Linked DNA regions of Homo sapiens: regions 1, 3 and 4 are each linked to region 2. The links are contacts of gene promoters, found by promoter capture Hi-C in blood cells and fetal thymus (Javierre and others, 2016). All regions are on one chromosome and are shown on one strand. The core of a region is centred on a gene start or on the middle of the fragment in contact, and the rest is flanking DNA. Distances in the headings are between cores, read along the strand shown. Region 1 overlaps GTF3C2 (general transcription factor IIIC subunit 2). Region 2 holds the start of CGREF1 (cell growth regulator with EF-hand domain 1). Region 3 overlaps TRIM54 (tripartite motif containing 54). Region 4 holds the start of MPV17 (mitochondrial inner membrane protein MPV17).

Region 1 (2,830 bases), core at 98-2,597, 220 kb before region 2:
AAATGTTTTTATTTAAAATACCATACCCAGGCTGGAGTATGGTAACACCATCATAGCTCACTGTAACCTCGAACTCCTAGGCTCAAGCAATCCTCCTGTCTCAGCCTTCCAAGTAGCTGGGACTACAGGTGCGCACCACCATGCCCGGCTAACTTTTAAAATTTTTTGTAGAGATGAGGTCTCCCTATGTTGCCCAGACTGGTCTTGAACTCCTGGCCTCAAGCAGTCCTTCTTCCTTGGCCTCTCAAAGTGTTGGAATTACAGGCATGAGCCATCCTGCCTGGCCTTTTACTTATTCTTAAATAAACTTATTCCTTGACTAATCTTTACAGAAAGAGATGTTAACATTAAGTATGCCTCTTCACTTTGGTCTAAATTTTGTAGTATCTGGCAGCTCTTTTTTGTAGTATATTTTGAGGAAGTTGGTGTCCCTTTCCTAGATTCATGCTAGACAAATTTTTCTCTCTCTTCTTTTTTGGAGTGTGTGTATGTCTGTGTGTGTGTGTTTTATTTCATTGGGTTTCAGAGACAGAGGTTAAATAATTGTGCATTCACTGCTTCATCCTTACAAGAAAATATATGAGCTTTAAATTAGATAATGTATGTATAGCACTTAGTATAGTGCTTGGCACATAGTTAGCATTTAATAAATGGAAGCTTTATGGCCAGGCGCAGTGACTCATTATCTGTAATCCCAGCACTTTGGGAGGTTGAGGCGGGTGGATCACCTGAAGTCAGGAGTTTGAGACCAGCCTGGCCCACATGGTGAAACCTCATCTCTATTAAAAATACAAAAATTAGCTGGGCGTGGTGGTGCGCACCTTGATCCCAGCTACTCAGGAGGCTGAGGCAGGAGAATTGCTTGAACCCAGGAGGTGGAGGTTGTAGTGAGCTGAGATTGCCCCATTACACTCCAGCCTGGGCAACGAGAGTGAAACTCCGTCTTTAAAAAAAAAAAAAAATGGAAGCTTTATTTGTTTACTTGTTTATTGTCTGCTTCACCAAAATGTAAGTTCCATGAGGGCAGGGACCTTGTCTGTCTTGTTTATTGTCATATCACCAGTTTCCTTTTTTGTTTTTAATTTTTTTATTTTATTTTATTTTGCTAGAGAAGGGGTCTTGCTGTGTTGCCCAGGCTAGCCTCAAACTCCTAAGCTCAAGCTGCCTTCCTGCCTCAGCCTCCCTAAGTGCTGGGATTACAGGTGTGAGCCACCGCACCTGGCTCATATTACCAGTTTCCAGAACAGTCCTGACATATAGAAGGTGCTTAGTAAATATTGTTGAATAAGTGAATAATCAGGGAACTTGGTTATGAGTGTGAGAATGAGGGAGAAAAGATGGGGAAATAAAAATCTGAGCTAGTACAAATAGTTTTTGTCCTCTACTCATTTGTGTGTCTCTGTATGCAGGGGCAGCCATTTTGGGGGGTGCTGATGGATACCTGCGGGGTCGGCTATGTTGCCCTGGGGGAGGCCGGCCCCGTGGGGAACATGACTGTGGTAGACTCTCCTGGACAAGAGGTGCTAAATCAGCTTGATGTCAAGACCTCTTCAGAAATGACCAGTGCAGAGGCTTCCGTAGAGATGTCATTACCTACCCCTTTGCCTGGATTTGAGGATTCTCCTGATCAGAGGAGGCTCCCTCCAGAGCAGGAAAGCCTCTCCAGACTGGAACAGCCAGGTATGTACCTTGTCCTCTTATCTTTTTATTCCCCATGCCAAGCTTAAGATGAAAGAGCAGATTGAGCTCATAGGATCTTACAAACCTGGGTACAGTGTAATCTTTTCCATAGAGGTTTGAGTTCTGGTCCCATCTCACAGACCCATATTCTTCTCCACAGATCTTTCTTCAGAGATGTCAAAGGTCTCAAAGCCTAGGGCCTCAAAGCCTGGCCGGAAGAGAGGTGGTAGGACACGAAAAGGCCCCAAAAGGCCCCAACAGCCTAATCCTCCATCAGCCCCACTGGTTCCTGGTCTCTTAGATCAATCCAACCCTCTGTCCACCCCCATGCCTAAGAAACGAGGTCGAAAGTCCAAGGCAGAGCTGCTGCTGCTGAAGTTGTCAAAAGACCTAGATCGGCCAGAATCTCAATCTCCAAAGAGGCCCCCTGAGGACTTTGAGACCCCTTCTGGGGAACGACCCCGCCGAAGGGCTGCCCAAGTGTAAGGATTGTGGGGCATAGCTTGGTGGAGGGGGGTTGGGTGAAGGGATCAGGGTGGGGCAGATGTTGGAGAGAGAAGACTGATGAGGTATTAGGTAAGCAGGGGTGGTGTCTGGATTCTAGGGACTTGAGCAGTCCTTTAGGCTCTTACCGCAGCACTATTAATGGTATGTATTGCTAACTTGGTTTATCTAAGAATTATTGTCTGTACTTTATGTCCTATGCCATTTTTCACAAACTTTACCCAGCTCTTTATTGTTTTACTGTCCAGTATATGTCAGTATATATATTCTGTTCCATTCTTTCTCTTGCCCTCTGTGTTCTTTGACTGTGGTAGGATGAAAAATGTATTGAACTTGGAGTGAGAAGACCTGGGTTCAGATTCCACATTTGTTATCTCAGTCATCTCGGCCAAGTCACATAACTTAGATTTCTGGTTTTTCATCTTCCAAGGGGGAAGGGGAAATTAATAGAGTTAATTGGTTAATCATGGGGTTATTGGGAGGCTCCATTGAGATAAAAATCAACCATGTCTGGAAACGTGGGTTCTCAGTCATATGTGAGAATGGCTCTGACTCTGTCCGTTCCCACAGGGCACTTCTGTATCTTCAGGAACTGGCTGAAGAGCTCTCAACAGCCCTGCCTGCCCCTGTGTCCTGTCCTGAGGGC
Region 2 (3,178 bases), core at 358-2,857:
GACTCAAGGGATCTGCCTGCCTCAGCCTCCCAAATAGCTGGGACTACAGGCGTGCACCACCATGCCTAATTTTTATTTATTTATTTATTGTAGAGACACGGTCTCACTATGTTGCCCAGACTGGTCGAAAACTCCTGGCCTCAAGAGATCCTCACACTTCGGCCTCCCAAAGTGCTGGGATTACAGGTGTGAGCCACTGTGCCTGGCTTCCTCCTCTTAATATCACCACAATGGGGACTAAGTTTCAGCACATGAATTTGGTGGGATATTCAGGCCATAGCAATGTTCTTCCTATGTGTGTGTCTGTGTCCACATTTCCTCTTTTGATATGAACACCAGTCATATTGATTAGGGGCCCACCCTACTCCAGTATGACCTCATCTTAATGGATTACATCTGCAATGACCCTATTTCCAAATAAGGTCACAGTCTGAGGTATTGGAGGTTAAGACTTCAACATATAACTTTGTGAAGGACACGAGTCAATGCATAACAGTGATGGGAGCTAGGTGAGCAGATGAGCACATGAGCAGATGGAAAGTGAGGAGAGGGCCCTGAGGAACTCTGACGGTGAAGAAAATGGAGACCTTTTTGAAATGACCAGAGGTAGGAGAGGTATTGCCGAAACCAGCAGAATCCGTGATCTAAAAAGGCAGTGACAAGCAGTGTTCATCACTGGGAGGAGGACAGGATGAGAGTGGGCTTGTCGCTGTGATGACAGTGTCGCTGTGATGGAGTGTCACAAACAACTCAGGAAGAGTTCACCCTGACACCCCAATACATATGCCTCTAACACTCTGCACCGCCACACCCCTGGGCAGTCAGTCACACATTGGCCATACCCTGAAGCCCACACTATCATTTATTTTTTATTTATTTATTTATTTATTGAGACGGAGTCTCAGTCTTGCTTTGTCACCCAGGCTGGAGTGCAGTGGCGTGATCTCGGCTCACTGCAAGCTCCACCACCCAGGTTCATGCCATCCTCCTGCCTCAGCCTCCCGAGTAGCTGACACTACAGGCGCCCGTCACCATGCCCGGCTAATGTTTTTGTATTTTCAGTAGAGACGGGGTTTCACTGTGTTAACCAGGATGGTCTCCATCTCCTGACCTCGTGATCCACCCGCCTTGGCCTCCCAAAGTGGTGGGATTACAGGTGTGAGCCACCACGCCCGGCCCCTGAAGCCCACACTATCACACGGATGCACAGTCACACAAAATACCCCCTACCGTGTCACAAATTCCTCATACACAGAGCCACACATGCCAGTCACAACCGCACATGCTAACAGTAAGTTAGGTTCCATTTTGTCACATACATCTGGGTCCCTCAGGCAGAGAAAGTGGCAACCAAAGCATGAGCACAGTTAAACATACTTCTGATGCACACTGGCCTCACTGTCTCTTGGTCTCTCTGTACTCACATGTGTGCATACAGGCACACGCACACATCCGCGCACACATGCACGCTCACACACGTGCATCCTTACACATGCTCACACTCACGCTCACAATGTCACACGCATGTGCACACCCGCACAAGCACACGAGCGCACTCACGAGCACACGCGGACTCGCACACGCGCACATGCGCACTCACGCACGCACACACGCGCACACTCACACGGGCGCGCGCAGCCCCTCCGGCCGCGGGCGCAGCGGGGGCGCTGGTGGAGCTGCGAAGGGCCAGGTCCGGCGGGCGGGGCGGCGGCTGGCACTGGCTCCGGACTCTGCCCGGCCAGGGCGGCGGCTCCAGCCGGGAGGGCGACGTGGAGCGGCCACGTGGAGCGGCCCGGGGGAGGCTGGCGGCGGGAGGCGAGGCGCGGGCGGCGCAGCAGCCAGGAGCGCCCACGGAGCTGGACCCCCAGAGCCGCGCGGCGCCGCAGCAGGTGGGTGACACCCCGCCCCGGCCGGCCGGAGACCCGAGCCCATCGCCGTCAGCCAGCCAGGGCCGCGCGGGGTAGGTGGCCTCCAGCCTCTGGTCCAGATCCCGAGAGCGCAGTCCCTCTGCATCCCCTGCGGCTCAGACGCGGCGGGAGCAGTGGCCCTTGCCCCTGTGTACCCTGAGGGCAGGTGGAGGAAGGGACTGGAGAGCGAGCCTGAGGCTCCTTGGTGTGAATTTGGGGCTTCGCAGTTCCCCAGGCGCTTCCCCCAGCCCCGCATTCCGTGTTCCAGCAGTCCTGGGGGAGGGGCAGCTGGCGGGAGCTTTCCCCCTCATCCGACGGGGAAGAAATGGAGCGCTGGGGAGGGCCCGAGGCTGTCGTCCGCTTGCAGGTGGCCGAGGGACCAGCTCCCGGGTGTGGGCTCCTCTAGCCCTGTAGCCGCTGTCTCCTTTCTTGGGGGATGGGTGCTGGGAGGCACAAGGGCACCAGAGGGATAAATTAAGAATTAAGGGAGAGGATTCTACTCAAAATTTTAGCTTCCCAACAGTTCGACTCTACAGGAGATGGAACTGCCGGCCTGTGAGGTGCTAGGTTCCTGTCCTGGAATGATTCAAGCAGAGGCCATTTGACAGGGTTGCTGAGGAAGAAATTTTTGCTTTGGATGGGAAGTTACCCAGGATAACCCTGCAAGGCCCCTGCCACAGCCCAGAGGCTCTGAAATACCCAAGCAGCACCTGCTTGGTGCCAGGCACCTACCCTAAGTTTTCTCATTGCAGCCTCCCCAAACCTTTAGGAGACAGATACCGTTATCCTCATTTTTAAAATGCAGATCCCGACCAGGAGCAGTGGCTCACGCCTGTAATCCCAGCACTTTGGGAGGCCGAGACGGGCGGAACACGAAGTCAGGAAATCGATACCATCCTGGTTAACACGGTGAAACCCCGTCTCTGCTAAAAATACAAAAAAAATTTAGCCAGGCGTGGTGGCAGGCGCCTGTAGTCCCAGATACTCGGGAGGCTGAGGCAGGAGAATGGAGAATGGCGTGAACCCGGGAGGCGGAGCTTGCTGTGAGCCGAGATCGTGCCATTGCACTCCAGCCTGGGCGACAGAGCGAGACTCCGCCTCAAAAAAAAAAAAAAAAAAAAATTCAGATCCCAGGGCTCAGAGAGGTTAAGACACCTGCCTAGGTCCCACAGTGAGTAGTATCAGAGGCAGGATTTGATCAGAAGTCTAACCTGTAGAGCGTGCTCTCCTCCCATGCACTGGTGCAAAGGCTTGAAGAACACTGGGGCCGG
Region 3 (3,062 bases), core at 386-2,885, 170 kb before region 2:
TGCAATAGAAATTATCAGCTAAAAGTAACCAGGTCTGCAGTCTGTAACATGGATAAACCTTGAAGACATTATGCTAAGCAAAATAAGCCAGACACAAAAGGACAAATATTGTATGATTCCTCTTAAATGAGGTACCTGGCATAGGATGGATGGTGGTTGCCAGTTGCTGGAAGGAGGGGGAGTAGGGAGGTATTGTTTAAGGGGTGTGGGGTTTCAGTTTGGGGTGGTGATAAAGTTCTGGGGATGGATAGTGGTGACAGTTTCACAACAATGTAAATGTATGTAATGCCATTGAACTGTACATTTAAAAGGTTAAGGTGGTACATTTCATGTTATGTGCATTTTACAAAAATTAAAAAAAATTTTTTGAGACAAGATCTCTCTCTCTGTCGTCTCAACTTCCTGGGATCGAGGGATCCTCTCACCTCAGCCTCCCAAGTGGCTGGGACTGCAGGTGTGCCACCATGCCCAGCTAATTTTTAAAAAAAGTTTCTGCAGAGATAGGGTCTTGCTAGTTGCCCAGGCTGATGTCAAACTCCTGGCCTCAAGCGATCCTCCTACCTCAGCCTCCCAAAGTGCTGGAATTTCAGGGGTGAGACCCCATGCCAAGCTTACAATTTTTAGAAAGAAAAAAGTAATCAGGACTTGGGCTATCTTGGCCAATGTCTTCCTTCAAACTCCCCACAGCCAGAACTGACTTCAGGACTTGACCTGAGGGAGGCACACTAACACCACCTCTTCAACACCCTCCCACCTGCCAAAGCAATTTCTTTAGCAGCTCATCGCATTGGTTAGTCATTGCATTTATTCTGGAGCCCAGAAGGCTAAGAGGCATCAGTACTCAGGCAGTCCAACCCAAGTCCTTTGAAAAGTTCCTGTCTTGGGAGAGAGAAATCGGGAGTGTGTGAGCTCAGGGTGCAGGGCGGTGGGGAGAGGCTGCACCTCTGCTTTCCCACCGTCTTGCTCAGGGCTGGTGCTGCTCCCTGCTGCTGACACCACAGTCCCGTATTTTGCGTGTAGCTTTCATCCCCCAGTCCCAGAGTCCCCTCCTGATTCACAAGTCCAATTTCTCCTGCCATATCTCCGTCGGGCCTGGCTGGCTTTCATCTTAATCTCCAGGGCAGCCCTTCCCTTCTGTGATTGCTTCAGCAATGCTAGCCCCCAGCCAAATCCTAACCCCACTTCCTTTGCTAGTCTTTCTGGCCAATATTTACATACATGTGCTTTTTGGCATTAAGACTACATTTGACTTGTAATAAAATAGTAAAATTTATCCTTCAGACTTTCCAGGGCCTCTGGCTCATATTGCTTAGACGCCCTCATTGTGTTTCCCAAAATATGGTATAATACTGATGACAAGCATGAAGATTGGAGGTGGTATGGGGATGGATGTTCAAGATTTTTTATGTGTTAATTCTAATGCATATTAGGAAAAAAACAGTCCACAAAAAACTGACAATTTTTCATGGATTACATTGTATAGAATAAGGATAAAGTAAATATTTAAGGTTTAAAAGTCATTTTTTGTTTGTTTGTTTTTGTTTTGCGACAGGGTTTCACTCCTGTAGCCCAGGCTAGAATGCAGTGGCACGATCTCGGCTCACTGCAACCTCTGCTTCCCGGGCTCAAGTGATTCTCCAGCCTCAGCCTCCTGAGTAGCTGGGACTATAGGCGTTCACCACCATGCCCAGCTAATTTCTTTATATTTTAGTAGAGACAGGGTTTCACCATGTTGGCCAGGCTGCTCTCAAACTCCTGAACTCAAGTGATCTGCCTACCTTGGCCTCCCAAAGTTCTGGGATTATAGGTGTGAGCCAGTGCACCTAGCCTAAAAGTGAGTGTTTTAAAATAGAACTATTAAATTATAGTACAGGTAGTACACAGCTATGGCAAAAATCAGGAAGGTGAAATAAGAATGAAATTTGCTAACCATTTCCTGACTTTCTCTACCAAAATTTGTCTGACTTGTGTTCCAAACCTTTTGCAAATGTTGAGTGGCTACTTTGAGAAAGTCTTCTATACTGGCTATATGGGTCAAATTGTTGCCCCTTATAGGTAACATCTCTGGTTTTTAACAGAAGCATTTAATGGAGCACAATATAGGGGAAGCAGCACAAAACCACAGCAGTTTTAGCAGCCCGTGACTTTGTCACCAACGGAAATCACAGCTGTTTTCATATCGCATTACAGTTGTTGCTAAAATTTCAAAAAATAATGTATGCTTATCATTACTTCTTTATTTATTTATTTATTTTTAGATGGAGTCTTGCTCTGTCACCCAGGCTAGGATGCAGTGGCACAATCTCGGCTCACTGCAACTTCTACCTCCTGGGTTCAAGCGATTCTCTTGCCTCAGCTAGGCGCCCGCCACCATGCCCGGCTAATTTTTTGATTTTTAGTAGAGACGGGGTTTCACCGTGTTAGCCAGGATGGTCTCCATCTCCTGACCTCGTGATCTGCCCGCCTCTCCCTCCCATAGTGCTGGGATTACAGGCATGAGCCACTGGGCCCGGCTGCTTATCACTACTTCTAAATTACAGCAGTTCAGACTCACTGCTAGACCTCATTCTTTAATGTGTTAGTTAAGAAGCACATGTATTACTCCATCAAATGTGCTTTAAATATTTTGGTGATTATATTCCAGTGTTTCCAAAGCTTTCTTCATTATTGTCCCCTCTGGGAGACTTTTTAATTAAAAAAATTTTTTTTAAGAGATAGTGTCTCTTAAAAAGATAGCACGGTGGCTCACACCTGTAATTCTAGAACTTTGGAAGGCCGAGGTGGGTGGATCACTTGAGGTCAGGAGTTTGAGACCAGCCTGGCCAACATGATGAGACCCTGTCTCTACTAAAAATACAAAAATTAGCCAGGCATGGTAGCTTGCACCTGTAATCCCAGCTACTCGGGAAGCTGAGGCATGAGAATCACTTGAACCTGGGAGGTGGAGGTTGCAGTGAGCCGAAATCAAGCCACCGCACTCCAGCCTGGGCTACTGAGCGAGACTCTGTCTCAAAAAAAAAAAAAAAAAAAAAAAAAAAAAGAGAAAGAGAGAGATAGTGTCT
Region 4 (3,040 bases), core at 434-2,933, 200 kb before region 2:
TGATCCATTTTAGGCACTTCGCATGTGTCACTTGTATGAGGTAGGTATTGCCATTTTACTTAATGATAAAAGAGTTGGAGAGGGTAAGCTGTCTGTAAAAGGTCAAGGTCATATAACTAGTAAGTGGTGGTGCTGGGGATTTGAACTCAGTCTAACTTCAGAATATAACTTTACAGCCTACCACATTTGGTCTCCTATTACATTTACTTTTGTCAGTTCACTCCTCTAGCATGCTGTTTTGCAAATAGCATTTTAGTTAAATGTTTGTGACATTGACTTCTCTTGCTTCCTTACTCTGTTTCTCCAGGATTTGTGGCAGGAGTCTCCCTGCCTTAATCATAAAGGAATTGAGTAAATTGGGGGTGGAGCTGGGCAGGTGGAGAGCCTGAAAGAGTGTGCCTCCTGACGTGTGGGCTCCCTGGAGATAAGTAAAGCCTGCCAGCCTGACAAGTCCATTGCCAGGGATATTGTAGACATTTCCAACGCTCTAGAAAGGATATTGCTCTATATTCACAGACTCTTAGAATGTTAGAGCTGGAAGGGGATTAAGAAATCACCTAGCTTACTGGTTTTCAAACATGCAGTTGTGGGCCCCGTTAAAAATGGGTCTTTTGAGAAGTATATACTTGGAAAAAAAAGTTGGAGAAGCAGCTGTAGTAATGCTGCCCCTCTCATCCCCACACACAAACATCTGAAAAATCCCTAGAACTGAGGAGCCGAGTTTGGAAAGTCAATAGTGTAACCTCCCTCATTTTACAGATGCAGAGCCTTAACATCAAGTCTAGTCATGACCAAGGCTGCACAGCCCGTTAGTTTGGGAGCCAATACCTAATGTCTTCTGAGGTTCTAATTCCAATGCTTTCTGTGGAAGAATCATACATACGCAGTATTTCTTAAGTGGCTGTTTGCGGCAAAGCACTGAAATAGTTGCTATGAGGACGACAAATATGAACGACCCCAGTTTTACCCACTCATGAGCTCACAGTTGAGGCCAGTGAAGAACCTAGAGACAAAACACGCACTTAACTATAACTTATAGTTCCCTAACTACGATTGCTGAGACAAGGATCGTAGTTATGGCCAGTTATGCGGGGAGGGTGGGCTGAACAATGAGACTACCGGATTGAGAGAGGCCCGGGTCTCGCGCGGAGAGAAGGGGCAGGAGGAGGCAGAGGGTCGAACTTAGGTGAGAAATATGGCTGGCGGGCCCCACACCAGGGTCCGGCACAGTCCAGCTGGAAAAGGGGTCTCTCACAGAGTGGGTGGCCGAGTTAGGCCGCTCTCCACGGGTATTCATGGCTCGGTCCACCCCCATTCCTGTCCTGGCTGCGTAATCCGAAGGACGCTGGGAGGAAGGGGCGGGACTTGTGGCGGAAGTTCCTAGGCCAGCCTGTCACGTGGGAGGGAGGCTCGGCGCTCAGGTGAGTGGCGGGTGATCTGCGGTCTCTGGCTTAAAGCGTCGCAAGCCATGAGTGCCCACAAGGTGTGTGGTCATCCTATATCCGGGCAGTGACGGGCCCTATTTTCGGTTTGGAGCTGGACTCAGGAAGGTTACAAACTGGTTCCAACCAAGTCTGAATCTGGAGACGGACCAAGCTATCTTTTGAGGCACCCAAGCTCTGGGTAGAAGCCAGAGCAAAGCTGTCCTCATGAGTGTCTCCGTCGGGAACGGAGGCTTCCAGGTGGTCTGGCTTCAGGAATGAGGTTGGGGTGGCTGGTGGCTGCTACCAGGAGTCCATAGCTTCCCACAGCCTTTCTCTCTTCCCCAATTGTCTAAGGCGACTCCTGCGACAGGAAGCTGTCTGGGAAGCATCCTTCATGTGGCCTCTGCCCCTTTAAGTCACATTGGAAGTGGGAAGGGGAAGGGAGTGGGCACAAGGGAATGTCAGGCGGCTTCTTAGTCGTGGAGAGGGACGGTGGGGGTGACCCCCTCTCCTCTTGGCTTGACAGGAAGCATGGCACTCTGGCGGGCATACCAGCGGGCCCTGGCCGCTCACCCGTGGAAAGTACAGGTCCTGACAGCTGGTGAGTGTCCCTCTAGGACTTGAGTGGGACCAGGGCAGACTGATTTGGAAGCCAGAGGCTTGCCCCACTGCACCACCCTCACTTCCTGTTTCTATTCGGCTCTCTTGAAGGGTTGGCTGTCTTTCATCCTACACTGTCCCCAGTCTGTTTTGGAGGGTGGTCCCCAAGGCTGTTTTTAAGGGGTATGCGTAGTTGGCCAAGCTGTGCAGTAGGGTTTTAGGATTTCAAAGTCCTCAAAAAGCTGAACAGTCAGCCCTGAAGGATAAAGGCATTGCCCCAGGAGGCCTCAACTTGGAAAACATTTTACCGTATGCAAAGCACTTTCATATACGTTATGGCATAGGGCCCCCACAAAGGTGTGTGAGCTAGGAGGGTTACTTGAGTCCACATTAGATCACACCTAATAAGTGCTGAATCAAGACTCTTACCCCAGTTTTTCTTGGTATTTTTTATTGTGAAACATACAAAAGAATGATTAAGATGTGTATGTACAGTTTAAATGGCATTAAAACTGAACACTCCTGTGTCAGTAATCAGCTTTGAGACCTCTTGAGTGCCTCTCCGTAATTCACCCAAAATTTCCTGAGTTTTGTTTATATCGTTCATTTGCTTTTGTTATCATTTACTGCCTAAATATGTATCTCCAAGGTTAGTATATTGGTATCTGATCACTCCATCCTGATCCATTTGGAGTGATCAGATACCAGTCACTCCAAATGCAGTGATTGAGTACTAACCTCACAGAGGTAATGCAGTGACCTACCTGCATTTGTTACCATCTTCATTTTGCAAGTTAGCTAATGTAAGAGGATGGCATGAAGATAAGTAAGTCTTAGAGGGGGAATGTCAGAAGGCCTTAGAACATTGGGGTGCAAAGAGTGATCACATTAAGATGAGGTCTTGCCCATGTTTAGAGAAGGGGAACAGGATTCTAGTGATGACTGGCCTTCTGAGAAGAGGACTATTGGAAGGGATTGGGGGCTACTGAAGGCCAGAGTGGAACAGGGATCCTGTG

What was found. The method cuts DNA at HindIII sites, captures the fragments that hold promoters and counts their contacts. A CHiCAGO score of 5 or more calls a contact.
Region 1: a fragment that was not itself captured here is called in contact with the fragment with the promoter of CGREF1 in region 2 in 4 of 17 cell types (naive B cells, M1 macrophages, endothelial precursors and 1 more); the score reaches 6.5 in naive B cells.
Region 3: a fragment that was not itself captured here is called in contact with the fragment with the promoter of CGREF1 in region 2 in 10 of 17 cell types (naive B cells, megakaryocytes, total B cells and 7 more); the score reaches 8.2 in naive B cells.
Region 4: a contact is called between a fragment that was not itself captured here and the fragment with the promoter of CGREF1 in region 2, in 1 of 17 cell types (endothelial precursors). The highest score is 5.9, in endothelial precursors.

Annotation. Positions count from the first base shown.
Region 1 is chr2:27,342,158-27,344,987 of GRCh38, reverse strand. GTF3C2 (general transcription factor IIIC subunit 2) reads left to right here. Exons shown (of 19, transcript NM_001035521.3): 2 at 1,410-1,680; 3 at 1,841-2,162; 4 at 2,755-2,830. The coding sequence starts at 1,434. Among named protein-coding and RNA genes, the nearest start is that of GTF3C2-AS1, 8.0 kb to the right of the region's middle. The HindIII fragment of the contact is 754 bases long and covers 971-1,724 here.
Region 2 is chr2:27,117,557-27,120,734 of GRCh38, reverse strand. CGREF1 (cell growth regulator with EF-hand domain 1) reads left to right here and starts at 1,607. Exons shown (of 6, transcript NM_006569.6): 1 at 1,607-1,889. RefSeq lists enhancers at 1,674-2,174, 2,175-2,675. The HindIII fragment of the contact is 4,689 bases long and covers 1-3,178 here.
Region 3 is chr2:27,289,839-27,292,900 of GRCh38, reverse strand. The region is part of intron 1 of TRIM54 (tripartite motif containing 54); the gene reads right to left. Among named protein-coding and RNA genes, the nearest start is that of TRIM54, 8.9 kb to the right of the region's middle. The HindIII fragment of the contact is 2,045 bases long and covers 613-2,657 here.
Region 4 is chr2:27,321,433-27,324,472 of GRCh38, reverse strand. MPV17 (mitochondrial inner membrane protein MPV17) reads left to right here and starts at 1,376. Exons shown (of 8, transcript NM_002437.5): 1 at 1,376-1,421; 2 at 1,951-2,025. The coding sequence starts at 1,956. RefSeq lists enhancers at 567-1,539, 1,662-1,721, 1,772-1,821, 1,832-1,921, 1,932-1,981. The HindIII fragment of the contact is 4,230 bases long and covers 1-3,040 here.